2 separate regions of the Homo sapiens genome follow, and region 2 is linked to region 1. Evidence: promoter capture Hi-C in human tissues and cell types (Jung and others, 2019). All regions are on one chromosome and are shown on one strand. The core of a region is centred on a gene start or on the middle of the fragment in contact, and the rest is flanking DNA. Distances in the headings are between cores, read along the strand shown. Region 1 holds the start of HAL (histidine ammonia-lyase). Region 2 has its middle 58 kb from the start of USP44.

The links. The method cuts DNA at HindIII sites, captures the fragments that hold promoters and counts their contacts. A contact is called where the count stands out against the background at its distance.
Region 2: a contact is called between a fragment that was not itself captured here and the fragment with the promoter of HAL in region 1, in 2 of the 25 tissues and cell types used here (aorta and hippocampus).

What each region holds. Positions count from the first base shown.
Region 1 is chr12:95,992,791-96,000,049 of GRCh38, reverse strand. HAL (histidine ammonia-lyase) reads left to right here and starts at 3,706. Exons shown (of 21, transcript NM_002108.4): 1 at 3,706-3,972; 2 at 4,059-4,386; 3 at 5,057-5,117; 4 at 5,225-5,252; 5 at 5,886-5,960; 6 at 6,052-6,124; 7 at 6,212-6,278; 8 at 6,562-6,599; 9 at 7,245-7,259. The coding sequence starts at 4,140. It overlaps LOC102723340 (a long non-coding RNA gene), which reads right to left and starts at 3,568. Exons shown (of 4, transcript XR_945237.4): 1 at 3,420-3,568; 2 at 1,623-1,719. RefSeq lists enhancers at 1,299-1,358, 1,805-2,099, 3,324-3,493. The HindIII fragment of the contact is 2,850 bases long and covers 3,284-6,133 here.
Region 2 is chr12:95,606,136-95,612,852 of GRCh38, reverse strand. No RefSeq gene overlaps it. Among named protein-coding and RNA genes, the nearest start is that of USP44, 58 kb to the right of the region's middle. RefSeq lists enhancers at 552-1,120, 1,121-1,689. The HindIII fragment of the contact is 5,580 bases long and covers 1-4,162 here.

The DNA of each region.
Region 1 (7,259 bases), core at 2,457-4,956:
AAACATAACAAAGCACCCCTGCCAATGCAACGTAGTGCCCCAGGGCATCTCAGCACACATAGCTGTACTAGGTAGAATTATTAGTGTATTAGCTCTATTAGTTAGAATTAATTAGAACCATAGCTGTGTTAGAATTCTTTGATTGCAAGTAACAGCAATCCAAGTGACCAGAAGTCAAAAAGGGAAAAGGAAGATTATTTTAAGGATGCTAGGTATGGGGAGATTATCAGAACCTGGGACGGACAGAAGGGGTCTGATGCCCAGGACTGCAGCACCGTCAGTGCTCCTGTCCCTCACCTCTGCCTCTCTAGTCCACGTTGTACAGGCCGGCCACTCTCCAGCTTTACTGTTACAAATAGCTCTGACCACATGGGGAGGCTATCACAATTCCAAATTCCCAGAGGTGAGACTCTAACCCAGGTTGGGTCCACCTCTGGTCAAATAAATTGTGTAAGAGGAATGGTGTCTTAGAGTATAATTGTTGGCATGGGGTGGGGGTGGGGAGCGGTGTCCTGACCAAATAACCCCTCAAAGTGCTAATGCAGTGACTAAAGTTACAATAGGAGTGAACACCCAAGGTGGGACAGGTATGGAAGAGACATATTCCTGCCTATTCCCGGAATCCTGACTTTTCCCTGGCTCTCACTCTCCCTAGCAGTTTTTGTTTTGTTTTGTTTTGAGACAGGGTCTCACTCTGTCGCCCAGGCTGGAGTGCAGTGGCATGACCATAGCTCACTGCAGCATCAGCCTCTGGGTTCAAGCCATCCTCCCACCTCAGCCTCTGGAGTAGCTGAGACTACAGGCATGCACCACCATGTCTGGCTAATTTTTGTTTTGTAGAGAAAGAGTTTGGCCATGTTGCCCAGGCTGGTCTCGAACTCCTGGGCTCAAGCAATCCACCCGCCTCGTTCTGTCCTCTTGGTCACTTATCTATGCTGCAGTGTGATTCTTTCTCCAGGCTCTGCTCTCCCTTGCCTTCCTTGCCAAGAATACAGAGAAGGGAGTTCAGCTCAAATCACTGGCATAAGATCATGTTCTAAGATTAGACTTTAGCAAATCCATTTACCCAAATACTGCTCTTTAAGGCTTCTGCCCTATGAGCTTACAAGACAAGCTGTAAGTTAATGTCGTTTTTAGTTATCACTTAGTGATACTGAAAGTGAATTGTGACAAGGGATGCTTGAAGGGTGGCATGGAAGGGTGCTGTGAAGAAGGTAGAGGGCGCTAAAGACAAACTTAATCCTGCTTGCTGGTTTACCTAGGGGCCAGCTCGGTGCAGTTCACATTTCTTCAGTTCAGCTAGTAAGCATATGCTAAATGTCTTTGTGCCAGATCGGATATATACATAATTATGGATGAACACAGACAAGTAATTTCCTAGATAATACTAAAGAAGAGCTATGCTAAGGCATCCCAGAGAAGGGCCACTTAACCCAACTGAAGAATTTAGGGAATGCTTCCTGGAGAAGAAAAGGCCTAAACAGGCTTAAGGAGTAAGAAAGATCTAGACAGGCAAAGGAAGTTGGAAAGTGCGTTTCTGGAGAAAGAATAACAAGGAAGACTCTGCTCCACAATGCGTAGGGCCTGAGTTTAGAATCCTCAAACTGCTGGGGGTGACTTACATGGCTGGGAGGTGGTATCACCTGGAAGCTCCTTCCCTCACTAGTCTGATGCCTGGGCTGAAATTACTCAGAAGCTGGTCTCGGCAGTGACAGTCAACTGGAGCATGCAGTAGTTTGGGTTGTTTTGCAGCATGAAGATAGTTAGACCTCTTATTAGTCATCTTTATACAGCTTTATCCATCACCAGACAGTAAGCCTCATGAATGTAGAGCGTGTTTGTTATTTATTTCATCCCCAGCACCTCGCATAGAGCTTGTTACATAACAGGTGTTGAAAAAATATTTGTTAAATGAGTCAAGGAATGAATGGGGGGGGGTGGGGCAGAAGGTTAAGGTGGTTCACATGTGCAGTCCTCAGTTTTCTCACAGATGTAGGAAGTAAGGTCTCCTTCTGAGAATTAGAGGTGGATGTCGAGAAGGTCCTGGCAGAGGGGTCAAAGTTTTGGAAAGTCACTGTGGGCTGGATGGAATAAAAGGGCAATACCATCAAACTATGTGATCACAGGACTTTCTCTATCAGTGTCTTCTGCCTGGGTGAACAGATATGACAGTTTCTTTTAATTTTAAACAGGGTCTTGCTCTCACCCAGGCTGGAGTACAGTGGTATAATCATAACTCATTGCAGCATTGACTGCCTAGGCTTAAGCAATCCTTCCAAGAGATGGCTGTTTTTTGTGATGACTAAGGGGATGGGTGTTATTCCAAGTGTAGACATAAGTTTAGGGATGCAAAGGAATCTCAGAGTGCTTAAGAAAGAGTGGTCCAGTGAGCGACTAGGGACCAGCTTCCTAGGATAGTAAGTGAGGATGCTGGTGGGAAGTGGAGGGATGAAGAGACTGACTGGAGGTCAGGTCCAAGGCTGGCAGTGACTAGAGTAAAAGGGCAGCTGGAAGGTTGTGGTCAGAAGGTGGAATATTGGAATTTCAGATTTCTTAAGTGTGTCAAATTCAGGTCGTGACAGATTCCAGGGTGATTTCTTAAGTGTGTCAAATTCAGGTCATGACAAATTCCAGGGTGCAGTCATGGTGTGGGTATCTGAAGAGCAAGTTTCAATAAGGCTCAAGGAAGGGTAGCTATTTGTACGCTTCCTGGGAAGCTGTCAGCAGATGAGAGGGACTCTGGGTATGAGTATAGGTGTTTTTCTTGAGCAACCATGTCTCTCTTCCCAACAGAAGTCTGATTTAGTGGAAACAGACTTTTCAGGATTTTTCTAGTGCAATAATCAAATCTCTAAAAATTGGCTTACGATGAAAGTGCTGCTTAGTCAAAATAGCATCTGCATATCTTTGATGCCGTAATCATGCTATCCAGAGTTCCTTAATACCAATGGTAATAAGGCGGGTGCAGGGAGCAGTTATCTGTGGTGAAGAAGCTTAATTGGGTGAGGGATATCCATGTGCCAAGATGAAAGAGCATTTATGGAACTTTATAGCTTTATGATTCATACAGAACATTTATAAAGCATTATAGTTACATGGAGTATTGGTGTCCAGATACTAGTAATCACAGACACTTCTATAATATTTCCACTATGCCAGGTGTTGTGTTGAGGGCTTTACATATATGAACTGACTTCATCCTCCCAATAGCCCTTTGACATATATACTATCATCATTACCATTATCTTCATTTTACAGATGAGGCAACTGAGGCCCAGAGAAGTCAAATCACTTGCCCACAAGTCATACACTTAGCAAATGGCAGAGCCAGGATTTGATCACAGGTAAATCCTGCACATACTGGAAGGAGGCAGTTAGCCCCTAGGCCTTCTGATAAGGAAATACAGGGTAATACTCACCTAATCAAGGCTAATAAGTAGTAGAGCTGGACTCTCATCCACGGCTGTCTGAGCCCCTAATCTCCAAGTCAGAGTGGTTCATTTGCCCAGATGACGACCTTTAGTTGTGAAAATGATCTCTGGCCTTTGCAGTCTTCCCTGGTGGAAAGAAAGCTTCAGAAAACCTTACTGGTGACAGGAAGTAGTTGCTCAATACATGTTTGTGGAATAAACAAATGAGTGACGATTGCCACACTCCCAGTGTCACAGTTGGCCCACAGAACACGTTTTACAGTTGAGTAATCTCAGATAAAGACAGGAACATGGTGTTTATAAGCTGCCCTTAATGGCAGAGAACACAGACAGAAACGAGGGAAGAGAGAGAAATTGGGGACCCTGAAGAAAGGGGGCCAGCAGCAGGTAGGTGCCATCAGGGACAAGAACAGCACCTCCCAGGGTGGGAGACCCCAGGCCTTTCTGGCAGCAGGTCTGGATGGAAAGTGGACAGGAGGCTCACCCGTCTGCATCCCCTGCTCCTGCCCCTGCTCGGCTACAAAAACCAAAGGGACAGCAGGTACCTCAATAAATATTTGTCCAATGCATGAATGAGTAAAGGTGAAGGAGGGGGAGTGGTTTGAAAGTCTATTCTCATCCTTCCAGCTGACCACACCCCGGTAGCCACTCCTGCATAAAGCTCTCCCCTCCTGTGACCAGCTGAGGACCTCAGGCTGCAGCGGAGCCATGCCCAGATACACGGTGCACGTACGTGGGGAATGGCTGGCAGTGCCCTGCCAGGACGCGCAGCTCACTGTGGGCTGGCTGGGCCGGGAGGCCGTGAGGCGCTATATCAAGAATAAGCCCGACAATGGTGGCTTCACCTCCGTGGATGACGCGCACTTCCTTGTGCGCCGGTGCAAGGGCCTGGGCCTGCTGGACAACGAGGACCGGCTCGAGGTGGCCCTAGAGAACAACGAGTTCGTGGAAGTGGGTGAGTGGCTGCAGGAGAGGGCCGCGAACGGGTGCGGTTTGGCCTGGCTTAGTCTTTGCAGCATTGAACCCCCACCTCAGGGAAAATGATGAGCAGAGGTCAGGCTTGCCGAGGCTGGCCCTGTGCAGGCACATGCCACGCCTCTGGGGATCTTAAGTCCTCACACAACCCTGTGAGATGGGTAGGATTCTCCTCCACCTCTGATGGAGGAGAAATCAGAGAGGAGGTAACTTACCCAGACTCCAGCAGCTAGTAAGTAACAAAGACTAGACTGGTACTCAAGGCTGCAGGTCTGAATCCCTTTGCAGTGACTGAATCATTTTGAGGTTATTTTGCCTTTCGAAAGAATCCACCCCCACCCCCAGACTGGAGGCCGGCAGCATAGCATCAGTTCAGATTTTGAAGAAAATAAAGCTGGGAATGGGGATGGAAGTGGAATTCTGTCTTGAACTTTCATCTAAACCCCTGGTCTCTGCCCTGACACCTACCTTTCTGCTTTTTGCTCTCCTCCTACATAAAGATGCTAAGACCACATGAAACCATCTGAAGCAGTTTTAAAGCAGCCATTTCTATAGAATTCATGGGCCAATGATGGGCCGTTCCTTGGTTTAACAGGGGGAACATGGCTGTACAATGTGATCTGTAACGAGTCTCCCGTGCATTGTTTTAGTTATAGAGGGTGATGCCATGTCTCCTGACTTCATTCCATCTCAACCAGAAGGAGTTTATCTGTATCCTTTCCCACAGGCTCTTTGGTCTGCTCTGGGGGTGGCTCCTGCAGATGGTGGGGCTGGGGGTTTTTCCACACCACCCTATATGTTCCTTTACCTGGATACAGATACAGCAAGTACCGGGAGCCTGAAAAGGTAAGCTTCAAACCACTTTCTTTTTCTTCAGAAAATTAAGGCCCCTTATTTAAGAGGGAGGAAAGCCAGGAAAACTTCTGAGAAAACACTGTCAATTAGAACAGGGCTGGCCGGGAGCAGTGACTCATGTCTGTAGTCCCAGCACTTTGGGTGGCCGAGGTGGGCAGTTCACTTGAGGTCATCAGTTTGAAACCAGCCTGGCCAACATGGTGAAACCCCATCTCTACTAAAAGTACAAAAATTAGCCAGGTATGGTGGCGTGCACCTGTAATACCAGCTACTCAGGAGCCTGAGGCACGAGAATTGCTTGAACCCAGGAGGCAGAGGTTGCAGTGAGCCATGTTTGTACCACTGCACTCCAGCCTGGGCTGGAGACTCTGCCTCAAAACAAACAAACCAACCAACCACAGGGCTTTATCCAGCTCTGTAGTGGGGAAAGGGGGCTTGGAAAGGCATTATGCTTTTGCACCAATAAGCCTCCTCTTATGCAAGATGCATTTTTATTTAGCATATTCATGTTTCACGCAATGATCAGATCTCTGAAATGTCAGTTTGGTTCTGTTGGAGGTGTCCCTACTCTGGTTAGAATAATCAAGCTGTTCAGACTCACTGAGATCCCCTTCTTTTGTGTAGTACATCGAGTTAGATGGAGACCGTCTGACCACGGAGGATCTGGTCAACTTGGGAAAGGGACGCTACAAAATAAAGGTATGGGGAGGGAGGGGAAAGATGTCCTCTGGCCATTTTTGTTGCCCGTGGAAGTCTTTAACGTGCTCAGTTCTGATCAACATTTTCCTAGCTCACCCCAACAGCTGAGAAGAGGGTGCAGAAATCCAGGGAGGTCATAGATAGCATCATAAAAGAGAAAACAGGTATCTTTTTATCTTTATGTTATAAATATTTTTATAAACAAACAAAAATCCCTGCATTTAATTGCATAATGTCTCTTTTTATTCTAGTTGTTTACGGTATTACTACAGGTTTTGGGAAATTTGCCAGAACTGTAATTCCTATCAATAAGCTACAGTAAGTTTAAAACACACATATGTTCACGTTCCACCTACCCTCATCTTTTAAATATTTTTCAACAAGGGAAATAATTCACATTTGCCCCAATTTACAGATCAGAGGATGAGGCTTGGGTTACCTTGCATGTGAGTTGGTATTGAAAACCCAGGCTGGCTGGTTTCTCCCATTGCCTTCCTTCTGTCCCTCCAAGGATTTGACCATGATTCCCTTCATTTTCCCAGCTGAGGGAACATTTTCTCACTGCAATGTATCTAAGAGGGTTTTTACCTTTCTGTTGCAGGGAGCTTCAGGTCAACTTAGTACGCTCACATTCTTCAGGTAAGTCAAAACGTTGGGTGCCTCCTGGATCTTGTGTGATTAGATGAATAAAGCACAGCACAGTGTGAGTTATCCAGTTATAGTCACAAAAAGCTAGTTTCTCAAAACAGCATTTCAAGAACTAGGTGCCGAGGTGAGAAGGGATGCAGAAAGAATCAGCTGAGCCTCAGAAAAAGAAATGGGCCAGGTGGAGGGATGGGGTTGGTATGAGAACACATGTCCCATGCCATGGAGACACTGTTGCATTCAGGGAAGGAAATAAAGCCTGGAACTCAAAGAATGAGTTAGGATGGGCATAGTGAGATGGGAAAGACTGTCACCAATCAGCACCCATCAGATGGTAAAGAAGTTGTGCTAAGGACTCTGGATGCTATTCTAAAGGTGAGTGGGAGGTCAGGGGTTCACTGAAGCTTCCCAAAAAGGGGAATTGAGAAGGCAAAACTGGGGTCTTAACCTTTGTCAGGAAGATGGGGCTCAGACAAGTCAGACAGGCAGGAGGGAGAGTAGTCCAACTACCTGAGCCGAGAGGAGAAGGTAATAGCAGGCTGGGCTACATATGGGAAAGATTGGAGGGAGGGAGGGCAATTGTCAGGAGACAAAAAGGAGTTTGCTTTTCTTGGAGAAAACATCAATTCTGTTTTGCAGGTGTTGGGAAACCAC
Region 2 (6,717 bases), core at 123-2,622, 380 kb after region 1:
GCCTGGGCAACAAGAGCGAAACTCCGTCTCAAAAAAGAAAAAGAAAAAAAAAAGTTTCCAAAGGATTTTTACCACCAGGAAGACTATCCTAGGTAACAACAGATAACTTTCTCAGTGGGCTTGTCCTTTATCGCTTTTAAAGAAAACTCCCAATCCCAGCACTTTGGGAGGCTGAGGCGGGCGGATCACCTGAGGTCAGGAGTTCAAGACCAGCCTGACCAACATGGAGAAACCCCACCTCTACTCAAAATACAAAATTAGCTGGGTGTGGTGGTGCATGCCTGTAATCCCAGCTACTCGGGAGGCTGAGGCAGGAGAATCACTTGAACCCAGGAGGCTGAGGTTGCGGTGAGCCAAGATCACACCGTTGCACTCCAGCCTGGGCAACAAGAGCAAAACTCCATCTCAAAAAAAAGAAAGATAAATAAATGAATTAATTAATTAATTAAACTCCCCTTTTTCCGACAGTATAGCACAATAGCTTTTAGAGCTTCTGGCTAGGCTCAATGCAGAACAGCTTTTAATTATTTCTTGTCCACTACCTATGGATTACTCTCAAGATACTACCACTTCTAAAATAAGAATTGTTAGTAATTAATTATATTCACACAGCTGCATTTATGGACCTGTGTGTGTACTGTAAATGACTGAGGAATATAGCCATGCAATCTGTTCCCAAGGTCATGGCTTAATGACTAACACACCTGAGAATGCTTTATCAAATGTTTGCATAAGCCATTGTGTTTGGCATATCAGGAGGAGGTTTTCACTAGGCCAGCTGATTAGCATTCATTAAAATGAGAAAAGTATCTACTCTGCTTCTCAGACCTACTCTAACCAGCCTCAATTCTCGTCATTTACTTAATTGCTTCTTTCCTGATTTGCTATTAATTCCCAATCTATCTCTCATCACCCTACCACTTTTCTAAGGTCTTTGTCCCTACTTCCACCCTCCAGACACCTGCCCGAATGGCAGGAGTGATAACATCAAGCCTACAGCAGTAGGTGGATTGCTATGATGAGAACAACAGGGCATTCATTTAAGAGGGACTCCAAGCCATTTTGTTCCACAAATACATTTGCAATATTCACAAAATCAGCTTGGTGCAGTGGCTCACACCTGTAATCCCAGCACTTTAGGAGGCTGAGGCAGGTGTATCACTTGAGGTCAGGAGTTCGACACCAGCCTGACCAACATGGTGAAACCCCGTCTCTACTAAAAACACAAAATTAGCTGGGCATGCTGGTGCATGCCTGTAATCCCAGCTACTCGGAGGCTGAGGCAGGAGAATCGCTTGAACCTGGGAGGCAGAGGTTGCAGTGAACCATTGCACTCCAGCCTGGCCAACAAGAGTGAAACTCTGTCTCAAAAAAACAAAAAAAATTCACAAAATCACATACACACAACCACTGATAAAGCTTCATTTATTGGACAAGTCAAAACTATCTTTCACATTTTTTAAAAAGGAAGACTATTTTGTCAGGAGAATTATCTGTCATGTAGAAGCTGAAAGAAATTTTAGACTTGAAAATAACAATTTTGGGGGCCAGGCATGGTGGTTCATGCCTATAATCCCAGCACTTTGGGAGGCCAAGATGGGCAGATCACTTGAGCTCAGGAGTTGGAGACCAGCCTGACCAATATAGTGAAACCCCGTCTCTACATAAAATGCAAAAATTAGCTGGGGCATGGTGGCACATGCCTGCAGTCCCAGCTACTTGAGGGACTGAAGCGAGAGAATCCCTTGAGCCCAGGAGGCAGAGGTTGCAGTGAGCGAAGATAGCACCTGGGCAAAATCCCATCTCAAAAAAGAAAAAAAAAAAAAAGGAAAGAAGAAAGAAGAAGAAGAAAATAACAATTTTTAAATTATTTCACCAGTTAAAATTGAAGTAACTCTGGTCGCCGTAATCTTAGATTTAGGGGTTTATCCTAAGGAAATAATCAACATGCATTCAAAGATTTATGTTCAATGGTGTTCTGCTGAATGTTACTATAAAAAGAAAAAGTTGAACCCAATCTGAATGTCCAACAATAGAAATTTTGTTTAATAAATTGTGGTATGTTCATTTGATTAAGCTTCAAAATCATGTAAGCAAATAATATTTAAAGAAATAATAAAATGTATAAAATATCAACATATGGTGGGAGGAAGAGCAGATAGTAAAACGTGAGTTTATGCTGATTTTGATGTCAAAATGTTCTAATTATCAGAAGTAATTATCTGATGCAATTTCAGGGTTTTTTTTTTTCCAAATTTTCTATAATAAGCATTATTTTATTTAAATACATATGCACACATATATTTTTATTTTAAAAGAAAAGGGTGAAAAAAACGGTAGGTATAGTTGTTGAAACACTAAAAAATAATTTCATCATGAAAGTATACTTTGGTTCCTAAATCAATTTAATTTGAAATCAGTGTAAATGTAAGTTTCCACATTTTTAAATTTTGACTACTCAGTGCATACAAATTATTATTCAGAGCACTAACTTAGCTATCACAAAATGTTTAAGCCATGTTATTTGCATAAACACATGGATAATATTCTTCTGTTGTTTTTATCCCATCTGCTTTTTTTTTTTTTTTTTTGAGACAGAGTCTCGCTCTGTTGCCCAGTCATGAGTGCAGTGGCGCGATCTCGGCTCACTGCAAGCTCCGCCTCCCGGGTTCACGCCATTCTCCTGCCTCAGCCTCCCAAGTAGCTGGGACTACAGGCGCCTGACACCACGCCCGGCTAATTTTTTTTGTATTTTTAGTAGAGACGGGGTTTCACCGTGTTAGCCAGGATGGTCTCAATTTCCTGACCTCGTGATCCGCCCGCCTCGGCCTCCCAAAGTGCTGGGATTACAGGCGTGAGCCACTGCGCCCGGCCTATCCCATCTGTTTTTCTTATTGCTTTAGAAACATGAGAATAATAAAAAGAAAGACACTATGACATTCAGTACTAAATAAATGATAATATGCATGCTAAGCAGCCTACTCATAATAATAATGTTTCTTTTGTAGAAAAAGATACATTTTGAGTCAATTACTCATAACTAGTAAATGACCTGATTGCTGCTAAGTACTGATACGACTCATATTTTCCAAGATCCTATATTATCTGTGTTTATACTAAATGATGTCACCTTATATATTCTTTTTTTTGAGACAAAGTTTCACTCTTGTTGCCCAAACTGGAGTGCAGTAGTGCGATCTTTGCTCACTGCAACCTCTGCCTCCCTCCTGTCTCAGCCTACCAAGTAGCTGGAATTACAGGCATGTGCCACCATATCCGGCTAATTTTGTTTTTGTTTTTGTTTTGTTTTTTGTAGAAATGGGGTTTCACCATGTTGGTCAGGCTGTTCTCAAACTGCTGACCTCAAGTGATCGGCCCACCTCAGCCTCCCAAAGTGCTGGGATTACAGGTGTGAGCCACTGTGCCCAGCCTTATATAATTCTTTAGGCTATAAATTACTAACTCTAAAAATTATCAAAAGGAGAGTTAGAGCTTTTTATACATAACTCCTCAAGATTCTTAGTCTTTTAGACACAGCAAAAGAGGAATAAAAATTTTCAAACAAATAGTTGAAAGTGTTCACTGTGGGAATCCTTTTTTGGTTTGTCCGTTTGAGACAGTCTTGCTCCATTGCCCAGGCTGGAGTGCAGCGGCAAAATCTTGGCTCACTGCAACCTCCACCTCCCAGGTTCAAGCCATCCTCCTGCCTCAGCCTCCTGAGTAGCTGGGATTACAGACGCCTGCCACCAAGCCTGGCTATTTTGGATTTTTAGTAGAGACGGGAGTTTCACCATGTTGGCCAGGCTGGTCTTGAACTCCTGATCTCAAGCAATCCACCCTCCTCAGCCTCCAGAAGAGCTGGGATTACAGGCGTGAGCCACTATGCCCAGCCAACTGTGAGAATTCTTAATAGCCCATCTCTTCATGGGAGTTTTGCCTTTAAAAACACAGATAAATCACAGAAAAAAGCACCATTCATCTAATTATTCCAAAGAGGATGGGTCAGAGGAAGGAAAGGGAAAGCTTTTACGCAGCAGCTTGGCTTTGAGCCTTCATGTGTTTTTCGTCTGAAAAGGATCCCACTGTTTTTGGGACATAACAACATGACTAGTTTGAACACACCCAGGAAACAGTATTCCTCTGACAAGGTATTTAAAAGATTAGTGCCAGATATTGAAAGGTAGGTGTGAGTGTGAAGGCTGAGCTCAGTTGGTTTAATCGTGGGTCTTTAAATTGAGCCATCAGATAATAATATTTTTCTCCAGTCATCTAAGCAACATAAGACAAAAAGGGCAGGGAAGCTTAAAAGAGCTACTCAGAAGAACAAAATTAGAGCTGTGAGTCAACTATTTGCACATTGCAAATGTACTTCACCCACATTAACACAACATTACGCCTGGCGGTAAAGCCTGCCAACCTTGAGGCTGTGAGCCTGTTATAAGTAGTGGTTAAAGGAGCCGGCCAGATGCGGTGGCTCACGTTTGTAATCCCAGCACTTTGAGAGGCCGAGGTGGGTGGATCACGAGGTCAGGAGTTCGAGGCCAGCCTGACCAACACGGTAGAACCCCATCTCTACTAAAAATATAAAAATTAGCTGGGCATGGTGGCACGCACCTGTAATCCCAGCTACTCAGGAAGTTGAGGCAGGAGAATCACTTGAATCCAGGAAGCAGAGGTTGTAGTAGTGAGCCGAGATCGCGCCATTGCGCTCCAGCCTGGGCGACAGAGTAAAGACTCCAACTCAAAAAAAAAAAAAAAAAAAAAAAAAAAAGGCCAAAGAAGTTGACAATGTGCTTTAAAATGTCCCAAAATGCACTGTTCTTCCAAGCGAAGAGGGAGCACCTGACTTTTGGATTACCTGTCTCATAAACCTACTGTATAAACTCCTAACTTGGAATCTCTTAGTATATCAATGCTATTGTAACTGGAAAGGGTTTCCCAGATAAAAAGCAAACATGGTTCAAGGTTGAGACCTTATTAGCATTTCCAAAGAGCTGTGAAAAGCCTCTAAACTCTCTCCCCTGCCAAGTAAATTTTGTTTTGCTGAGCTTTGGCACAGTTCCTCTGTTGTCATGGGGGGGGGGGCATTATTGTCACAGCTGTCTCGGGGGTGCTGCCTTGAATACATTTCGAAAATAACACACGAATAAGGAACATGACATTGGCTATATCAAAAGAGTTTTATAAGACAATCACACCTGCTACTGCAAAACTCCAAACTGGCAGTATAAACATCACTTTGCACTTATTTAAAATTATGGGACCAAAAGATGACATTAGGTAAATGAATAAATAATTAGGTAAATAAATGTTCTTAGAGACAAGAACTTAAAGAATAAGTTAGAGAACTTAGAGGTAAGAATTTAGAGAATAACTACTTATTAGGTAAATAAATAAACACAGATGCCTTTGCTAAAACGACTAAGGAAAGCAGAGAAGATACTTGGAAGATATATTTTTAATGTGAACAATTAATGTAAACTTTCTCAAAAACAACTGTAATCCATTCTTTCCAACTGCTTCATTCAGTAAATTTCTTCTTCAAAATGACCAATTATTTTGTTTTGATTATCTTGCTCTGTAGAAAATAGTGGACTGTCATCAATATGAAAAGAATTTCACTATTCTTCTTAATTTTATGTTGATGATAAATTTAAAAGGTGGTTAGGGAAGTTGACAATAGCACATGCAATGCCTTGAATGATGGGCAAAGTGTGAATACGTTATGCAATATATGGAAATTTTCTTTACAAGTATACTGCCTTTAGGATATTTATGTTTAACCAGAATTGCAGGTTGGAACCTGCAACTAACTTGCATTTAGTGAAATTCAAGTTATTTATTATATCCTTACTAGTGAAAAACTGGCTCTGAGGTCATTTAACATCTCCTAAATGTCAAGAGGTCATTCAACTTCTTTACAATGACTTCAGGTTAACAACAAAAGCAAAGAAACGTTATCTTTGGTTGCTGCTTCCAACTGGCATCTTCAGAATCAAGGGATATAGTGCCACATCAGTACCATGTCAGACTTGCTACAGGATTTTGAAAAGATGAGTTTCCCAATCATCACTCTTTTTTCTAGAACTAGATTAGTGACTAAAATAAAGTAATAACACTCCCAGGGAACTGTGATCATCCATATTTAGATACTTCTCACCAGAAGATACAGTTGCATTACGATATTGGTTTGAACACCTTAACAGAATCCAAAATAACAGTGACTTACATAAGAGTTAAAAACTTATTTCTCAGGCTGGGCACAGTGGCTCATGCCTGTAATCCCAGCACTTGAGGAGGCTGAGAAAGGAAGACTGCTTGAGCCCAGGAGTTCAAGACCAGCCTGGGCAACATGGTGATACACTGTCTCTACAAAAAATTTTTAAAATAAAAAATCAGCCAGGCATGGTGGCATATGCCTGTAGTCCCACCTACTTGGGAAGCTGAGGTGGGAGGATCACCTGAGCCAAGGGAGGTTGAGGCTACGGTGGGCTATGATCCTGCCACTGCACTCCAGCCTGGACAACAGTGTGAGATCCTGTCAAAAACAAAAAACAAAACAAACAAAAAAAAACAAAAACAAAACGCCTTATTTTTCCTTCACATAGACATCTGAGTTAGTAGGTGATCTGGAATGTAGGGCAGTTCTCTTTCCAGGGCATCCAGAGAACCAGAGTTCATGAATGTTATTGTTCCACCAGAGCAGAGATACAGAGA